Regions from separate parts of the Homo sapiens genome. Here all the other regions are linked to region 1. Evidence: promoter capture Hi-C in 16 types of primary human blood cells and fetal thymus (Javierre and others, 2016). All regions are on one chromosome and are shown on one strand. The core of a region is centred on a gene start or on the middle of the fragment in contact, and the rest is flanking DNA. Distances in the headings are between cores, read along the strand shown. Region 1 holds the start of GUCY2F (guanylate cyclase 2F, retinal). Region 2 overlaps ACSL4 (acyl-CoA synthetase long chain family member 4). Region 3 overlaps ACSL4 (acyl-CoA synthetase long chain family member 4).

Evidence for each region. Contacts are between HindIII fragments. The CHiCAGO score rates a contact against its expected background, and 5 or more counts as called.
Region 2: a fragment that was not itself captured here is called in contact with the fragment with the promoter of GUCY2F in region 1 in 1 of 17 cell types (monocytes); the score reaches 5.6 in monocytes.
Region 3: a fragment that was not itself captured here is called in contact with the fragment with the promoter of GUCY2F in region 1 in 2 of 17 cell types (total B cells and naive B cells); the score reaches 5.4 in total B cells.

The regions. Positions count from the first base shown.
Region 1 is chrX:109,480,375-109,483,498 of GRCh38, forward strand. GUCY2F (guanylate cyclase 2F, retinal) reads right to left here and starts at 1,712. Exons shown (of 20, transcript NM_001522.3): 1 at 1,492-1,712. The HindIII fragment of the contact is 1,102 bases long and covers 1,270-2,371 here.
Region 2 is chrX:109,692,108-109,695,231 of GRCh38, forward strand. All of the region lies in intron 2 of ACSL4 (acyl-CoA synthetase long chain family member 4), which reads right to left. Among named protein-coding and RNA genes, the nearest start is that of ACSL4, 40 kb to the right of the region's middle. The HindIII fragment of the contact is 2,568 bases long and covers 325-2,892 here.
Region 3 is chrX:109,650,656-109,653,779 of GRCh38, forward strand. The region is part of intron 15 of ACSL4 (acyl-CoA synthetase long chain family member 4); the gene reads right to left. Among named protein-coding and RNA genes, the nearest start is that of KCNE5, 27 kb to the left of the region's middle. The HindIII fragment of the contact is 1,263 bases long and covers 954-2,216 here.

The DNA of each region.
Region 1 (3,124 bases), core at 462-2,961:
AAAATAATTAATCTCTAATAATATAATGTCTATTTCAAGCATCAGTTGCAGGTAGGCAAAGGAGGATGGACTACTTTTTGAGCAAAAAAATGAAGAAACTTTTGGTGCCCCTCAGATCAAAGTGATTAACTGTCCATTCTAGGTGTAAGGCTGGCATTTTTGTGTTATAATCCAGGTAACTCCTAAGCACAATGCCCACCCCAAATTCTAAAAAGTTAGATTTTTTATACCATTTCTAAAATTCATACAACACGGGTCCCTCCTCAGGCCACATGCCACAAAGTGTCCCTTGGCATTCACTCTCAGTTTTTGTTGCTCTTTTCCCTTTGTTAACTGCAAGATAAACATTTCCCAAGCTGAAGGTCTGCCCTTACATTTTTTCTGGTACCGATGTGATGCATTTGGTGATATTTCTAACTCTGTTAGGACTCCCTGGACAACCAGAAAGTTTTATGTTGCTGTAGGATTTAGTCTTGATCCCCCAACTCAAGATTTTACAGAAGGAAACTTATTCTTTAAAAAAGAAAAAAGAAAAAAAGAAGGGAAGGAAGGAAGGAAGGGAGGAAGAGAGAAGGAAGGAAAAGAGGAAGGGGGAGGAAGGGAGAGGGAAGGAGGGAAGAAGAGAAAGAAGGAAGGAAAGAAGGGGAGGGAGGAATGAAGGGAGAGAAGAAGGAAGGAAGGAAGGAAGGAAGGAAGGAAGGAAGGAAGGAAGGAAGGAAGGAAGGAAGGAAGGGAGGGAGGGAGGGAAAGAAAGGGGCAAGATAGGGGGAGGATGCCCTAAACCTCCACCTGCTGATTTTGGTTTAAGGAAAAAAATTAGCTCACTAAAGTCTTTCCTGGGGTTAATGGGAAATGTGGATATAACTAAAACAAAGTTTGAAGGTATGAAATTTTGGAAATAGAATACTACTGGCCCACAGTTGTTCTGGGGCCATTGCCTAGGTTACTCAGGTGTGAACACCTGCATGGGATCAGACTTCCATGGAAAGCGGCTAGAGCATAGGGATGCATAATTTCATTTCAGGTAGTTTTTACAATCTGATGGGAAGCCTGGCTTCACACAGAAAACCACCGTTCGTTAAACATGTACAAAGAAAGACTATGACAAATAGCTCTGAGGGAAATGGCTCCTCATACCAGCTTGTCAAGCCGAGGACTTCTATGAAAGATTGATTTGTCTTTCTAATTACAGCCTGAATCAAGTTAACAGCTTGTATAAGACAACATCAGGAAGCAATAAAAAAAGAATCATGAGAGAAACTAAACGAAAGCTTGGATGAGAGCCTTTGAGCTCAAATCTTGACTTAAAGTATCTCGAAGGCTCTCTTTAACCCTTCTTTCCTTCTTTCCTTCATTCTTTAAATTTTTTTTTTTACTACATATTGCAGTAAAACTAATGTATCTCAATCAGCGTCTCAGCTCCCAGGTGGGCTGTGTCTTTTTTCCCCCCATTACAATCTTTCTTATAAACAAGAGCTGTCAACTACTCACCAAGTAATTCACCGCTCAAATGTCTTCAGTTTACTGCCTGCGCATGCAGACCACTGGCATAGCTACCTCAGTGTGTCCATTTCTTTGCATCCTCTATGCATTCACAATCCTGTCAAGGACTCCAGTCTGTTGACAAATTCCATTAATGGGGTAAATAATTGAAAGCGTTAGTAAATGTTTTGAAAATCACTCTTCAGCATCCGCAGACCAAGACTTGGATTAGGATTTAGAGTGACACTTCTAATCCTTTAAATTGATCCCACCTGTAGCAGAGTTAGTGCTGACCTAAATGCAATGACCCAGAGATTAACAAACAAATAGAGTCCTCTGGATAAATACGTCCTCCACAGACTACTGCCTTCTTTTACCTTTCAAAGTCAGACACAAACTCTCAGATTTTGCCTCTGTGTTCTTCCTTGTTCCATTCTGTCTAATAACCACCAATCGCCCTTTCTCCAGGACAGTTCTAAATGCCAAAACATTCATCAGCTGTGATTCCAGCCCAGAATATAAAAGGTGATCCAGGCTGGCTCCCTGCAAAATTCAAAGCAGGTGAATTTTGTCTCCTTCTCCTATTCCCCTTAAGTGCCTTCACTGCCTTTCCTCCCAAGAGAGACTCCCTACTTCCCTCTACACCTTTGTACAGAGACATTGTTTCCCCATACTTTAGATGTATTCCTTTTCCTTAAGAAGTCCCTCTCTGTCCTGGGCATCATTCACTCAGGGCCCTGTTCTGGATTCCCAACGTGAGAACTGAGGTGTTAAGGGCTAAAAATGACTTATATTAAATGAGAAATGTTTTTTAATAATAGTTTTATTGAGATATAATTTATCTACCACAAAAGTATATAATTTAGGGTTTTTTTAAAGTATATTCACAAGCTTGTGCAACATTTTCATTATTCCCACAAAGAAATTCCATTCTTGTTTAAAAGTCACTCCCCATTTCTCTCCTCCTCCTAGCCCCAGGCCACCACTAATTTACTTTCTCTATGGATTTTCCTATTCTGAACATTTCATATAAATGGAATCATACAACATGTGATCTTTTGCGAGTGGCTTCTTTGTTTGAATGAAAGAAGGACATGGATGAAATTGGAAATCATCATTCTCAGTAAACTATCGCAAGAACAAAAAACCAAACACACTTTGTTTGAAAAACAAACCGTTTTCAAGGTTCATGCACGTTCTAGCCTGTACCAGTACTTCATTTCTTTTGTGGCCAAATAATATTCCACTTTTTTGGGTATACCACATGATCAGTTGATGGAAATTTAGGTTGTTTCCACCTTGGGCTATTATGAATACTGCTTTTATTACTTTTGTGTAAAAGTTTTTATATGGACATATTGTTTTTATTTCTCTTTGGCATATACCCAGGGAATTGCTGGGTCATATAATAACTCTATGTTTAACATTTTTTGAATTGGCAAACTGTTTTCCAAAGTATATGCACCATTTGGCATTCCCACCAGCAACATATGAGGGTTCTTTTTTGCCTACATTCTTACCAACACTTGTTACTATCTATCAGTTTTTTATTTAAGTATGACAGGCATTTTATATGTACATTATACTTATATGTACATCTTTATGTTCACAACAACCATGAAGGTGGATATTACCCATTCTT
Region 2 (3,124 bases), core at 359-2,858, 210 kb after region 1:
CTCAGCTGCCATGTTGAAGACACTTTTAATGCTCTAGAGTGAATTCCCTCCCATCATGCCTTAAGAAGATCCCCAGCATGCATCAGATAATGTTGTTGCTAGGTCATAGGATGTTATAATCAGTATCCTATCTATGTATGTTAAAATGAGGAGCTCTAGGAGTCAATGTTGATGCCTACACACTTCACATACACTGTGTATAATTATACATCTATTCCTCATTTTAAGTGATCAAGATACACTTGATTTTTAAAAATGTAGCTTTCTAAAGCTGGGAATTGGTTGTATATAATTTAATCCAATAATTGGTTGTAAATAATCCAAAGCTTACATTTAAGGAATCTTGAGGATAAATCAGGCTAGAAGTGGCACCTACTGGCTAAGCATGATGCTATAATCAAACTTTATTAAACATAATGAAAAAGGGAGAAAAACTAAGTTCTGGGTGATATGTGTTTAGAGAGCAATACAAATGGTTCATTGCTGTAGAAGGGCAGCAGACAGCACAATGACAATGTCAATGTTGTACAACTGATGCTAAAGAGTAACTGCTGCAGGTCCCTGTACACAAAACCTTGCTGCTAAATTAAACTGCCCATTGTACCACAGTGCAGACTTTTATTTTATCTACAAAGTCTTCGATTTACTGGGTGCTTTTTCTCTGTTGGGATATATAGATGATTTTAACATAAGTTAACCAAAAATAATTGGGTTATAGAATTTAACTTTAAAGTTAACTTTTATAATAAATGTGTTTTGTTCAAGTGAAGAATATACAAAATATCTATAGGTTATACATCTATCTCCTGTCATCTTACATATTTATTATAATAAAGTAATACAACTTAGGGCTTTCAACCATGAGTGTAGGTTCCAAAAAAGTCTTTAAGCAGCAGTAGTAGTTCCCATAGGAATAGATTCATGTTACAGGGAGAATTTTACAACTATGCCTTTTTTTGCCACATGATCTGCCCTCCCCATCTGCCAGAGGAGGAACCAGCTTAATAGGTTAGTTTGTCAATGTTCTTTTCAATATGTCAGACTGTTAATAAATTATGCAACAATGCAGTCTTAAACCATTTCTTATAAAATGGCCAAATAAATGACTATAATTCAGCTGCCTGACCACCATAATACAAAATTGTATCGTGATTTAAAAAAAAAAAAACTCATTCTGCTTTTCAGTATTAAATAGATCTTAGAAGTGATTCTAATTAAATAACTCAAAGACTGATAAATCTGTTGAATATTGAAATCTTATGGCCATATAGTCAATGCTCACATATTAGCCGTAGTAAAGAACAGAAGGCCACATATTCTAAAGACAGCAGATAATTCAAAAATGCATTTTATCCTTATTAGCATTTCATTTTGAGTATGTCTGACATTTCAGAAATTAAAGAATTCCTACCTAAAGAAGGAAGTCACACAAAGCCAAATATAAGAAGCCATGGAAAAGTACCCCTGGAGTTAATATTTCCACATTAGGATTGGGAATACATTCCATTCTGTTCTCTCCCTCCACATTCATTTGTTTATCTGGCTTATGCTTCAGTAAGATGAGTAAGACAAGGTTGATAAGGGAGCTAATTATTTCCATTTTGAAACATATTTTGGGAAAGTTCAGACAAAGGCAATTGATGGGGGGCCTCCAAAGTGTCACAGAGTACTATCTGCAATCTCCTGAACACAACTGGCCAGATATGTTCATGCCAGTGCTTCTGGTAACTCCTACTCTTCACCTTGGTAGTTTTTTCCCTTCCAAATCTAGATGGGCTGCAGATTGATTGCTATAAATATGTATGTGTGTGTGTGTAGGTGTGCATCTATGAGAGAGAAAACAGTACTTTCTGTAGTTAAATTAACTATAGAAGTTTGAATACTACCACTCTTCACAGTGGCAGTATAGTCTGTCAACTTCCAAAAGGAAATAATAATTTTGCTGATATTTTAACTTCTTTGTCAGCCACTGGGTAGCGTGTAACACCTAAGTAGCTGAATTCGGTGACAGCTAATTCTGATCTGCTGATACAAATCTTTGGCCATGTTTAAGATTCTTCTAATGCAGGCTAATCAGTGGACTTCAGCATTTAGCTATACAAAAACATGGCCTTTTGAATTTCTTTATACTTGGAAATCAAAAATAGTTATTAGCACATAAGAACTACTATATCTTCAGTTTCAAATTTATAACCTATTATAATGAAAGCAATTTTCAGAAGACCAGAAGTTCTAGAGAGACAGTATCAGATATAGGGTTTTAGTCCTGGTTCACAAGCTGCTGAGTGGTAAGACCTGGAACAAATTAACCTCTCAATGTCTGTTTCCTCATCTGTAAAATGAGAAAGTTGGGTTCATATTTTAAGATATCACAAAACAGCAAAAAATGTAAAAGAAAGAATTAGTGGGGGGAAATGACACAGAGCTACCAAGTTGTTGTTGTTGTTTTGCCAGGCATGAATTTTTTTAAAGCCCTACCATTTACTATCACCATAATTTCATGAGATAAATAACATGTTTAATTCCCCTAAATTAGAAAGATATATTCTATAAGAAGCAATCCTTTAAACTGAAAATGTTTAGCTTTTAAAAACTCATGATCTGCTGTCCTTATTTTTCTCACTTCACCATGGACCAGTAAAAACGTTTTCACTAACCAGCACTGGTCTAAAAATCAACAATCGGGGACTATAGGACTAGGTAAATTTCAAAGTCCAAGCCTCAAACACTATGATTTTAATTTTAGGTGCTCTGTTGTATTTCTTTTACTCCATATTGTAGTCTAGAATAGATGCCTCAATGAAATATATACTTAAAAATTTATGAAGATCAGAAATACACGCAAATCAGTTTGAGAGACAGCCTCAATGTATACTTGCCCCGATACATTGAAGCTTATTCTTCAATAAGCTTCGGCACAAGTATACATTGTGGCTGTCTCTCAAAGAATAAGCTTCAGGCTGGTATGGTGGCTCATGCCTGTAATCCCAGCACTTTGGGAGGCCAAGGTGGGAGAATCACGAGGTCAGGAGTTTGAGACCAGCCTGGCCAACATGGTGAAACCCCTTCTCTAGTAAAAATACAAAAGTTAGCCAGGCGCCATGGCGGGCACCTATAATCCCAG
Region 3 (3,124 bases), core at 335-2,834, 170 kb after region 1:
TACCCTAAAACTTAAAGTATAATAATAAATAAAGAAATACACAAAAGAGAAGTCCCTTTGTCTCTCTATACCTTCTTAACACTATGCTTTGTTCAAAGTAGTTATCACCACCCAACATATTATATATTTGTTTCACCATGGAGCTAAAATGTAAGCTCCATAAAAGCAAGGTCTTTGATTTTTTCACTGCCATCCATAGGGTTGAGAGCCCTCCATAAATACATACAAGTTTATTAATTCATTCTACAGAAAATTAAGTCTCTAGACAAATATTCTTTATAAACTTTACTATATATTCAAATGCAGATAAAAAAGGGGATTGTGAATTTCATATCTTTAAATGGTATAAAAACTGATGCAATGAATATTGTATTTGAGTTATACAACTTAATACATATTGGCAAAATATAAGGAAGGACATAAAGGTAATTAATACAGTATTAATACTTTTAAATTCCATAAATTATATGCCATCAAGTTATTTATTATGACTACAAGGGTAATTCTTTAAATTATGGAGGCCTATTAACAGTAATATTAATCAACAGATGTTATGTTAATCAACATAAAATGTTATTTTATGTGATTATTTAAAACAGCAATTGCCAAGAAGCAAACATTCGCACATTTTTAAAAACTACTACAAAATAGCCTAGACGAGTTTAGAAATGATTTGGTTTCAGTGGCAAGCACAAAGAACTCACATTCACCAAAGTTCTTTTCTAGTACTAGTCTACGTTTTATGAAAGCTTGATTGAACTAGTGAGTTTCTCACTAAAATGACAGAAAAATATAAAGTTGAGTATGAAAAATAATCTTTTAAATATAAATTACAACCAACTTCCTAAAAATAATGCCTGAATGGGTCGTAAAGGAACATAAAACTTGCTTGAATTAACCAGGTCTACTCTGTTATTAAAGTACAGCTCAGTTACACAGAGTTTCATAAAATAAGCTTATCTGCTCCCAACGTCACATTTGGAACTCAAGGAAACAGTTAAATTCTCAGCTACAGATTTGGCCCCCCAATTTTTTATTTCATTTTACTTTTCTTACATACATAGGTCCTAGTCCAGAAACACTGACAAAATTGGGACAAGGCAAACACATTATTTCAGTTGCACACAAGCAAATGAAAGCAGGCTGAAAACAATCTTAGTTAAATTCCTACTTTAAAGCCAAAAAAATAAAGACTGCTATAGAAGTTTCATCTTGAAAACTCCTAAACATTATCTAATACTCCAAGCCATAGGAAGCAATGGACTATCACAGATTCCTGTAAATAGAATAAATTGCCAACAAGTGAGAAAGGTTAGGAGAAGGAAAAACAAACAAAACAAACAAAAATGTGGCATTTTTATCTGAATTAACTAGAACATTATGAAATGTGACTTGCAGGTGGCAGCAAATAGCAATTTTCATAGCCATTAGTAGTTGCTCAAATCACCCAAAAACAAGTATTTTGCATTCTTATGATACTATGTATACCTCACAATTATACTTAAAATATGAAGAGGCCTGCTATGAAAGATGTATAATTTCTGACAGATTTGCTGAATACAATCAAAACTATTTCACACTTTTTTGCATAAGTCTCTGAAATTATAATTTGCAAAATGTTGGCAAGATAAATCCTTTGTGGCACAAAAGGTTTATGATTTATACATTTAGCTCATGATTACCACTCATTATCCAAATCATGAGTTACATGCCTCACTCTAAGCACAGGAAAGTTATGAGAACCTAGTGGGTCCTAGGATTTTATTCTGCCTTCTAACAAAGTGGGATACAGTTTGACTTCCCCCATTGTTGCTTCTACACAATTAAATATGCAATGGAAAATTATTCAAGTCACATTCTAATCCATTAATATATTCAGAGGATGAATAAGAGTAACTACAGTGCACCTCTGATGATTAGCCTTTTGGTTGAAATACTATATATTTCTTGAAATACTATATTTAAAGAAAATACTATATTTGAAATGCTATACTTAAATACCTAAAGAAAATACTATATATTTTTAGAAATACTATATTGAGAGCAAATCAGGCTTTGTATCAAAAAAGGTTCTGGGAGCCTGGTTCATTAATATAAAAGTGTGTTATATCAATAATATTGTAACAAAACCACCTTGAAGAAGGAAATATTATGTCACACTATTTTTGTAAGTATAAAATACATGTCACACTGTTTTTATAGGTATAAAATAAATAAGCTTTTTCAATCTGATTATGTTAACAGGCCATTGTTATTTAAAACTTCACAGTGTCTAGAATTCAGAAAATTATTCTTGGGGAGAAATTAGTTTTCAGGTAGAAAAACTATTACTATAAACTATATTTTTAAACCAAAATGTAACCTAAGTAGTTAACATTTTTAATAAATAGAAATAATAGGAGCCCAGTTAGAGAAATAGGTATATTCATATATCTCTGATAGGAATATAAGCCGGTTCAGTTTTCCTGGGGAGAGGCAGCAATTTGGCAATGAGGAAAAAAGTCTTTAAAATATATATTCTTATGCAGCCAAAAGACACATGAAAAAATGCTCATCATCACTGGCCATCAGAGAAATGCAAATCAAAACTACAATGAGATACCATCTCACACCAGTTAGAATGGCAATCATTAAAAAGTCAGGGAACAACAGGTGCTGGAGAGGATGTGGAGAAATAGGAACACTTTTACACTGTTGGTGGGATTGTAAACTAGTTCAACCATTGTGGAAGTCCAGTGTGGCGATTCCTCAGGGATCTAGAACTAGAAGTACCATTTGACCCAGCCATCCCATTACTGGGTATATACTCAAAGGACTATAAATCATGCTGCTATAAAGACACATGCACACGTATGTTTATTGCGGCACTATTCACAACAGCAAAGACTTGGAACCAGCCCAAATGTCCAACAATGATAGACTGGATTAAGAAAATGTGGCACATATACACCATGGAATACTATGCAGCCATAAAAAATGATGAGTTCATGTCCTTTGTAGGGACATGGATGAAATTGGAAATCATCATTCTCAGTAAACTATCGCAAGGACAAAAAACCAAACACCGCATGTTCTCACTTATAGATGGGAATTGAACAATGAGAACACATGGACACAGGAAGGG